Regions from separate parts of the Homo sapiens genome. Here all the other regions are linked to region 2. The links are contacts of gene promoters, found by promoter capture Hi-C in blood cells and fetal thymus (Javierre and others, 2016). All regions are on one chromosome and are shown on one strand. Each heading gives the region's core, a stretch centred on a gene start or on the middle of the fragment in contact. The rest is flanking DNA. Distances are from core to core; before and after follow the strand shown.

Region 1 (3,512 bases), core at 647-3,146, 340 kb before region 2:
GATGCTCAAGTCCTAAGATCTTATGAAACAAGCCAAGAAAGCTACTTCTGATCAATTTTAAGAACAAGTAAAGAGAAAAGCAGGCCATTTGTGTACCGTTTCAAGCAAAAAGCAACAAGATGAATATTCTTCATGTATACATAGCCTACATAGGCTGAAGGCTCCATCTCAAAATTCCCCTTCACAGCCTAAACCTTCCTCAGCCCCTGAGTTGACCACCCTGCCTATACCGTATTTTCCCGTTTCTCAAATCACTGGCAAGTGTTATTTGGGAATTGAGTCATATTGGCTAGTTTTGTGCCACCATGAGGAAGCTTGCAAGGTCTTTGGTAGTCAAGCTGATGACTTACGCTTCCCTAGACCAGCAGCTTTGTCTGGGCACACCCAGATGCGTGCAAACACTTTGAGCACTGAAGGTCCGCAGGCCTCCGCAATCACTGAGCATTTGAGACTCCTCTGGGGCCATGCATCCACCAGCTCTCAGCGCAGGTCAGAAAAGGAGCCTCACAGAGACTTCTCATTTATTTTACATTCATTACCCTGCTAATTTCCAAAGCGAGGTGCCTGAAGCTAGCTTAGCAACAAGCAGGCGTGACGGCTGTCCCACGGCTGATTCTGAATGTGCTTTGTCAGTGTGTTTGTTTTTCCTTCGTGCTAACTTTATCTTCAGAACCTATTAAGTTTAATCCCAGCAGTACTAATTAGAGGTGGCAACAACAGAAATCCTCTGCAAGGGCTTTTAGAAATCGACCGCCACTTCAGTAAGAACAGCCATGCTCTTCTTTTCATTCCTTGTCGCTTCCTCGGGCATTCCACAAGGAGCTACAATCTGGTGTTTAGAGAGCTGAAGGGCACTTATAGAACCAAGCTCTACACCAAGTAAAAAGAGATTTTAAGCATATGTGGATTCAAATGAGAAATCTGTGCAAGTGTGCCACACACCTCTCTTAACCTCATTTGGGGATTTCTGTGCATACTGTACTTAAAATTAAGTAAGATAAGCTGTTTTTAAGATGTCGTGTCTTGGTGGCGTTGAACCATAATTTTCTGCCTCCTCAGTGGAAGTTCAAGCTTGTGGTCATACAAGGAAATGTAAACTCTGAAACTGAAGAGCTTCACTAGGACTACTAGGGAAGTGCAAGTTTAGGGAAATGAAAGTTGTCTCCAGGGTATGACATCATCTGATGACCTTGTGATGAGCCCATGGTTTATTAAATGTGTTTAAAACACACATAGGGAAGTGAGGGGTGAGAGACGGGGCAGGTTAATAGCAGGGCAGCATTTGGGGGGAAGCCCAGAGCATGAGGCCTGGTTAGCACCATATTCACATGTCCTGTCTTCCTCTCCCACATCGGTTTTCCCTGCTGATGGGGTGGTGACGAAGACCAGATTTGGAGTTGGATCAGGGCCTCACAGACAAAGGGCACCTAGAGCCAACAGCACAGATGTGTCCTATTGGAGAAACACAGCAACTTGTTCTTCTGAGAGACGTACTGCACTGGCTATAGCTGCAGGTCGCCAGTTAGCCTGCTGGACAGCCACAGTTTGATTGGCATGCTCTGGGCTGATGCAGGGGTAACAGAGCTGTCAGTCCAGTGAGGGCATGATCAGTAACACTATTTGCGCCATCATATATTCCATGTAAGACTTCTGTCTTCAACACATCACACCCATAATTAACTCACCATTGAACACATTGATGAATCTGCCCTTACTTCACAAGCCACTTCTCACTCATTTCCTTACCGTAACACACCCTTTGAGATGCACCTGCACCTCATGAGCTGGCAGCTCGCCTACCCTCTGTGCTTAATATGCTTCTCAGTTTCACCCTTTTCATCTATTCATTGTTCTCTACAGCAAAGCTGAATATACTTGATACAGCAAAGTCATGTCACAGTAAGAATCTAAAGTCCATTAGGAGTAAGTTTTGGGAAACCTCTCCCACCAACCTATATCTAAGCTGAAATGGTTTGGGTCTGTGTCCCTGCCCAAATGTCATGTCAAATTTAATCCCCAAAGTTGGAGGCAGGGCCTGGTGGGAGGTGATTGGATTTTGAGGGTGGATTTCTCCCTTTGCTGCTGTTCTTGTAGCAGAGTTCTCAGGAGATCTAGTTGTTTAAAAGTGTGTGGTGGCCAGGCGCAGTGGTTCATGGCTGTAATCCCAGCACTTTGGGAGGCCAAGGCAGGCGGATCACCTGAAGTCAGGAGTTCGAGACCAGCCTGACCAACATGGAGAAACCCTGTCTACTAAAAATACAAAATTAGCCAGGCACAGTGGCACTTGCCTGTAATCCCAGCTACTCAGGAGGCTGAGGCAGGAGAATCGCTTGAACCCTGGAGGCAGAGGTTGTGATGAGCTGAGATTGCACCCTTGCACTCCAGCCTGGGCAGCAAGAGCAAAACTCTGTCTCAAAAAAAAAAAAAAAAAAAAAGTGTGTGTGGCACCTGCCTCTTCTCTCTCTTGCTACTCTGGCCATGTAAGACATACCTGCCTCCCCTGCGTGCCTTCCACCATTATTGAAAACTTCCTCAGGTCTCCCCAGGAGCAGAGCAGAAGCCTCTATGCTTCCTGCACAGCCTGCAGAACTGTCAGCCCATTAACCCTCTTTTTTCTTTTTAATAAGTTGCCCAGCCTCAGGTATTTATAGCAGTGCAAGAATGGACTAATATATAAACCATTAGCTGGAATCTGGTGAATAAAATCTCTTACAAGCTTTAGAATGTTAGAGCTGGGATTTACAGAATGACAACTAGCAAATAACAACATGGAAAAATGTCCAGCTCCCCTGTTGAGTAGAGAAAAGTAGAAGGGCTTTATGCAACTGGGTAAGATGTATACCCAAGCGTGGGAACAAAGGAACACACAAGAATTTTTAAAATTGTATTACGGTGATGGAATTACGGGTGATGTTTTCTCTATTTTATAAACTTGCCTTACTGTTCTGATTAAAAAGTATGTAAAAGCTGGTAGGAGCCTCATCCATCACATGGGCAAACACCTTCAATTTCCTACACAAGGACCTTCTTTGCATAGTAGACTATTTCTGTTTAGCCTTAACTCTATGTTTTTAATATTGATGTTTTCTCTCAGGTGATGGCAGCCCTGGACCTCAGCAAACAACCTTGGTCTATGTGGCATTGGCCTGGAAATGAGTGTCTGCAGCCTGGAAATTTAGATCTTAAGTGTGCTCTTGTTGCAGTGTCTGACATGCCCCCAAACGACTGTCCCTAGAGAAACATCTGGGACTGTGAGTAACACACATGGAGAGGAAGAGAGGGAGGAAGCCATGGATTTTTCCAAAAGGTACCGTTGGGACATTATATGCAAAACATTAGGTCTTGGCCGGGTATGGTGGCTCATACCTGTAATCCCAGCACTTTGGGAGGCTGAGGCAGGTGGATCACTTGGGGTCAGGAATTTGAGACCAGCCTGGCCAACATGGTGAAACTGCATCTCTACTAAAAATACAAAAATTAGCCGGGCAAGGTGGCACATGCCTGTAATCCCA
Region 2 (3,540 bases), core at 758-3,257:
TCCACTGGGTGCACACTTACTATTGCTTACTTTTTAATTCTGGCTGCGGCTGAGCAAGACACCAGTGTCCTGGGACACCAACCGCCTTCTGGGTGGCAATAATGACAGCAGCAGCTATTTCAACTGCAGCTGCTAACGGTATTTCCATATACTTAATCCCACAGGGCAGAAGTTGGCAGTAGTGTCCAGCAGCAGAAAAAAATGCTAACTGGGAATGCTGGGCTTAAGGAGTTTAGTACAGAAATGGCAAATACCCCACAATTTCTGACCTTTGTCGTCTAATAGGATACCTATCAACTAAACCCTACCTAAAACCTAAAATGCTTGAAATCCGCCTAGAAGCTTCAGTCTGATTTTGCCCATAGGTCAAATGTTAATGAACTATTATTTTCTTCCATTTCTGCTCCTCATCTTTAATCTAAAAACCACGGAGTCATGGAATGGGAAAGGCCTAGAGCTCCACTTGCTCTAGTTCTCTTTTCAAAAACCATAGCCAGAAAGCCACGAGGAAATGCAGACTTACAAACAAAATCGATTTGTTCCAAACTGGTGTGCTCTGGGGGCCTGGCCCCTCTGGGAACCCAGGACTCAGGCTCCCATGCCAGGTGTTTTGTCACTTGGCAGCCTCCTTGGACACGTCAGAGTCAGGGAGCTGGGCTTCTCGAAAGAAGTCCACTCCATCTATGGGCAGCATGCATAGCAGGGGCAATCCGCCTTAGCAAACCGCTCAGTGTTTCCTCCTAGTCAGGGATTCTCAACAGGTTTAGGGGAGGGGTAGGATGGAGGTAGGTTTTATCAGAATCACATCATTTGCACTATAGTTTGAAAGATGTAACATAAAGCTGCTGCTTTAGTACCAGCTGCCATATTTCCTTTTCTTGGAGGTTTCTAATAAATCTAAAGGAGGGTGATCTATTAAGTTTTGCAAAATGGCCTGAGGTTCCAAGAGGTAGGAGAGCCGCTGCTGACTTCAACTTCTCCGTATAGCTGAAGATGACCTCTTGAAGCCTGCAGATCCCAAATCCGGGATCTCTCTTAATGTGGCATCACACACATCTGTGTGTACCTGTCTTTTTTTCCTCCATGGGACCAGCTCTCTCCAGATCCAATGACAAGCTTCCGATTATCTGTGGATCTTCTGATACATCTCCTTGCTTGTAATCATCATTCAGTAAATGCTTTTTAAACACAGGTACCTCCTATGCAATCAGTACAGCACTCATAAAACAGATATACTCAACAAAAAGATTGAATGAAACACACACGACAACATGGTCAGGGTTTTTCTCTAGGCAGAGACAGCGCAATTTCATCTTTTCTTTTCCAAGTCTATCCTAAATTAATATACTTAGCACTGCTTTTTAAAATAATAATAAAAGACTATTATTAAAACAAAGGCACCCCAGTTGATCATAGCCAAGGAAAAAAAACGCAGCCAGTTTTTACTTCGGCAAGGTTTAGGGGATTTATCATTTTCGCTGCCGATATTCTAACTAAAAAAAGCCAACTAAACAGCCCAGAGAACGAGGCAACTTTCTGAGGCAGGCATTCAACTTCTAAGGCTCGGCCAAGTTTAGCAAATAAGTTTCGTTTCACTGCAACACCGGAATGCCCACCGCGTGCCCCCCTCCGGGCGGGGCTCGGAAACTGGCCACTGCAGTCGTGCCCTTGGGTTGGGGACGCACCTCAGCGAAACGAATCCAGCCGCACCTCCCGGCTGGCACCCGCGCGCTTTAACTCAGGGAAAACAGACCGGAACGCGCATGCGCCGCGGCGCGCCGCACCGCCCACCAGCCCTCCAGGTCACATTCTTCGAAAACCAAGGCAAGAAAGGCGGCAACTGCGCCTGCGGGTAGAGAAGCCGGAGGGGCGGGGGCGGAGCCGGAGGAAGGGGGTGGAGGCGCGCCTGCGCGGTGATCCCGCCAGCAGGAAGCAGGCGCGCGGGGGCGGGGGCGCGCGGCGGCAGGAGGCGGGGCTCTCGGGGCCGCTGCCGCCGCCGCCGCCGCGCATTGTGCAGCAGGCGGGCCCCCGCGCGGTAGGGCCCTGGACCCGCGCGGCTCCCGGGGATGGTGAGCAAGGCGCTGCTGCGCCTCGTGTCTGCCGTCAACCGCAGGAGGATGAAGCTGCTGCTGGGCATCGCCTTGCTGGCCTACGTCGCCTGTGAGTGCGCGCCCGCTGCCAGCTGGGGAGCCCCATTCATTCCCCGGCGCCGCGGTGGGCCGGGCGGCGGTGGTTCGGGGCCCCGAGGCGGCCCTGCAGCCCCGCGTTGCTCCCCGCCCCGGGCGGGGCCGGCGCTTTCTGCTCCCACCCCTTTCCACTCTTGCAGCAAAGCGGGCCAACTTGGGCGCACACCCCCTACCGCTTAGGCCCGGGCGCGGACCCCGGGCGGAGGGGCCCCTAGCAGTCCTCGGGCGGCCCCAGGTCTCTGCCTCCTGCCCGGGCGCGGGGGACTCGGCGGCGGCGCTGTCGTCCATGTCGCGCTGGGAGCCGGCGAGGGTCCCGGTCGGGGACTCCGGAGCGTGCCGCGTGGGGATACCCTTGGGGACAGCCGAGGTCGCGCCGCGGTGTCGGTTAAGTCGGATAAAAATACTGTGGCCATTGGCAGAGCCCCCGCTCCGACTGTTTGCTCCTCAGGAAAATTACTCAGCGTTTAACTCTTGGGGAGCCAAGTGTGGGCGGCTCCCCGGCCCGCGGCCGTGCCCAGGTGTCGGGGCGCACCGGCATCCCCATTCTAGGTTTTCCCCCGGGGCTCGGCGGCCGGGCGAAGCAGGCAGGCAGCTGGGTGGCCGGGCAGGGCGTGCCTGCAGCTTCTCTGTGCGCGGGTCCAGTTTCTGTCATCGCTCACAGCATGCTGCCTGGAGACAGGGCAGGAGGGGCACTTCGCAGGCAGGTGGTCGGCCCTCTGCTTGTTAGGGAAGTCAGAAACCGTCCTTTTAAAGATCTATTCGTTGGGAATGTTTTAATTGATGCTATTAATACGTTACCAAGTAGCAAAATTGGACTAGAAATAGCTCCCAGTGTGAGCTGCGTTTGAATGCTAGCCACCCAGACACACACTGAAATGAAATCACCTGCTAACCTGTTGGCGTTACCAAGATCTGATTCCAGAGGTGAGTGGGTACTTCACTTGTCTGAAGTGACTTCAGTTGAGCTCTAGGAAGGCAAGTATGAGTAGATCCAGCCTGTGTGCTACAGCCCAGCTGTTCAGGAGGTGGAGCTGGAAAACCCCAGCAGGACTCCGGGTTGCTAGGGGAGGTTTCAGGCGTCGGATGGGTGTTAGATGTGTGTAGTTTTGCAAGGGAGGAAGAACTAGTCTAAAGTGTGTGTGTGGTCAATCTTGAGTAAGAAAGCTGAGACCCAAGAGGAAAGACCATTTAAAGTTGAATAACTATTATTATGGCAGTAATACTACCTACATTTGTTGAGTGCTTAACTGTGTGAGTCATGATTCTTAGTGCCATTGTCTCAATCATTGAGCAACCCTGGGAAATCGGTACTATAATGATTCCTATTTTAGAGGTGAGGAAGTTAAGGCCAAGA
Region 3 (3,082 bases), core at 275-2,774, 330 kb after region 2:
GTGACCGCTTTTTAGTTGAAGGTACTCGTGTTATTTGGATGGTGTTATTCCAGTGTTATTCTTTCTAGTATTATTTGGATGGTGTTAACTGCATCTAAAGTCATCCATTTGCAGGGAACCGTGTGTGTGTGTGTGTGTGTGTGTGTGTGTGTGTGTGTGTGTGTGTACATGCACATGTGAGCTAGAGGTTACAGATCTTTCCCGTGGGTTCGGAGGGCCAAACTCATGTGTGAAAGGGACAAAGAAGAGAAGGCCAGGTCCAGTCTTTAACATGAGAGAAATTGAATGCCTGGCTGAGGTACCTAATCAGCTGCCTCAGAAGTGCCAGCTCTCCGAGGTAGGCCCTGGATTACATTATCTTTACACATCTGAAAATGAAAATTCACTGACATAAAGAAGTATGTCATAAGGATAACTGTGTACCTCCCAAGCCTGAGATTCACACCTGCAGCCTTCTCTGCATCCTACTGACGTCCCACCCTAACCTCAAACTCCACTACGCACCGTGGCTCAGTCTCCTCTTACTTCCCCCACTCTCTGGGTCACTGTTGGTCCTTCAGGCTGGAAACTCTTGAGTCATTCTAATACTTCTCCGAGGTGTTCCCCATCCAGTCAACAGAGTCCTAGGGGTTTTCCTTCAAAATCTTCCTTTTCTCTTTTGTCCTCCATCCCCACAGCTGAGCTCAGGGCTTGGGATGTCACCCTGGGTCACTCTCAGGCCCCGTCCCCCACCTCCCACTGCCAGGCTCAGGCCCTTCCAGTCGTGTCCTGAAGACAAGGATCAGGACCCCTGCCGGACACCCCAGCACTCATCTCCCCCTTAAGCCCTGTGGAAACCTCCGAGGGTTCTTTTTTCACACCCAGGGCCTTTACGGTGTGGCATGCCCCACCCCAGAGGCTGCCCCAGCCCTCTTGCTCACCCCAGTCCGGCTGGCTCGCCGATGGCCTTCCCCACACCTATGGGTTTCCGTCTTCACATCCTCACTTGCACTCTGCATCCCTCAAGTGAGACCCCACCCCCCCTCGCCAAGTCTCAACCCAGCTCAGAGTATTCTTCACATGAATGACTTCCTTCAGTTCTCAAAAACTTTATGAGACAAGCAGTCACGTATCCCGTTATACAGACGACGCAACTGAGGCTCAGAAGCTTCAGCGGCTTGTTCAAAGTCACTCAATGATTAAGAGCAGTAGGTGGCAAAGCCTGGATTTGAATGCAGGTGATCGAAGACTCCAGAGTCCTCCCTCCTGCCCACAATGCTACATGCTCTCTGAAAGCACAGGTGCCCGAGCTGCATAACTCAGCCCTAGTTTCCCATTGGACAGGAAGGGACAGTGCTATTGTTTGAATGAGGACTGTCCATCTTGTGCCAGTATTATTTTCCCGATTATATTACAAATACAAGCTTCAGAAAGTCAGGGACTAAGCCTTATCCTTCCTTCACATCCCGACCAGATGAAATAACATCTGACCAGGCTCCCCCTTCTGATCGGAACACACCCTATTACACTGTTGGGGTTGCTGCATCGTGTCTGCATCCCTGTTTCAAAGCCTTTGGTTACTGTTCTCAAAGGTCACTCACAGCAGAGAATGCAGTGGCTCAGACGGGATTTCCAAGGGATAGAGAAAGGGACAACTGAAGCTTAGACTCGGCTTCCACGAGAACCAGGCTGCTGCATTTGTTACCCACATTTCATTTCAGAGATGAACAGCTCTGCCCTTGTTGAGACCTGTGAGAATATTTATAATCACGATGACAGACCCACAATCCTATAATGCCGAAATGAGAATTTCCGATTTCCCAGCAATCACAGAGGCTGTGAGCCCAGGAGCTCAAAACAGCCTGGGGTGACCCAGCAAGAAGCAGAGATGGTTTTCACTTGCATGCTGGGGATATAGATATGATGAATAATTAGAGAAAGTTCTGAATCATGTACTGTTAGAACCATTCTGTGAAGCATCAGCTGGGCACGTTGACATCTGGTATTATTCTCATGTTCTAAGTCCAACTGCAGCAGATACTCGATGATTCTTTCTGGCCTCTTAAAGGCTTATGCCAAACTTAGGGCACTGCCCAGGCACAGCAGGGGAGCCCAAGTCTCCAGACTCCCAGCTACCTTTACGGCCTAGGGTAGTCTCTAAACCACTGCTGATATGTCTGCTTCTTTTAGTGCACAGGAAAATTACAAAAACGGCGCAAAAAACATTATTTTCCCCAAGCCATTTGAGACTAAGCTGCCAAGACGATGTTCCATTACCCGAATACTTTATGTGTATTTCCACAAATAAGGGCATTCATCAAAATCAGTAAATTTATATCAATACATGACTATCACCTCACCCTTGAACCCCTTCAAGGCTTGCTAGTTACTCCCGAGGTTTCTCATTTCTAAAACAAAGAACTTGGTATAATTCTGACTCTGGGACAGAGTCCCCCCAAACGTACAAAGCGGCCTACCACTAAATCCAGATAGTCAATTTGGTAGAGGAAAAATAATTCAGATTAGATCTGAAGTCCCCTCTGGGTCTCGTACCTGTGACTGCTGTGTTCTCAGGCTTCATTTTTTCATCTGTGATTAGTAACACTACTGAGGCTGGCCTGGGGTGCTATTACATATTTTCATATGAACTGGACATTTTCATAAATTTATGTACCATGTAACTAAAATCTTGCTTGACTACTCGACTAACCTGGGTCTTTTGATCTAAGTAAAATCAGCATGCTTAGTATGAAGCACAGGCTCAAGACCGACCCCCTTCCCACTAGTCTGAAGCCCTCTAATTCTTCCTAGACATAATTCTAGAGTCTTTACCACTGATATAAAAAAATGCCTGTAAGTGTTAAGCCGCCTGGTAAATTGCAAAGTGCTGTATAAATTGCAAGCTGTTGCTGCTCTCATTACATGTATTTATGCAGGCTAACCCTAACTAAAGGGCCTTTAGTTACCCGGGGCAGGGCTGCCTTCCCTGGTTGCAGTTTACAGCCAGTTACCCTGATCCCCACCTGCTACTTCTTGTAGCCATTATGCAGGTGGAAGAAAGGGAAGGGGGGAGCGGGCAGGAGGGAGGGAGGGAGGGAGGGAG

Evidence for each region. The method cuts DNA at HindIII sites, captures the fragments that hold promoters and counts their contacts. A CHiCAGO score of 5 or more calls a contact.
Region 1: a contact is called between a fragment that was not itself captured here and the fragment with the promoter of UXS1 in region 2, in 6 of 17 cell types (monocytes, M2 macrophages, M1 macrophages and 3 more). The highest score is 29.7, in monocytes.
Region 3: a fragment that was not itself captured here is called in contact with the fragment with the promoter of UXS1 in region 2 in 1 of 17 cell types (naive CD8 T cells); the score reaches 6.1 in naive CD8 T cells.

What each region holds. Positions count from the first base shown.
Region 1 is chr2:106,534,954-106,538,465 of GRCh38, reverse strand. It overlaps a transcript of CD8B2 not described here. Among named protein-coding and RNA genes, the nearest start is that of CD8B2, 49 kb to the right of the region's middle. The HindIII fragment of the contact is 1,645 bases long and covers 1,074-2,718 here.
Region 2 is chr2:106,192,768-106,196,307 of GRCh38, reverse strand. UXS1 (UDP-glucuronate decarboxylase 1) reads left to right here and starts at 2,007. Exons shown (of 15, transcript NM_001253875.2): 1 at 2,007-2,160. The coding sequence starts at 2,067. RefSeq lists a silencer at 1,925-2,534 and an enhancer at 2,865-2,914. The HindIII fragment of the contact is 11,333 bases long and covers 1,119-3,540 here.
Region 3 is chr2:105,861,913-105,864,994 of GRCh38, reverse strand. All of the region lies in intron 3 of NCK2 (NCK adaptor protein 2), which reads right to left. Among named protein-coding and RNA genes, the nearest start is that of NCK2, 120 kb to the right of the region's middle. The HindIII fragment of the contact is 237 bases long and covers 1,406-1,642 here.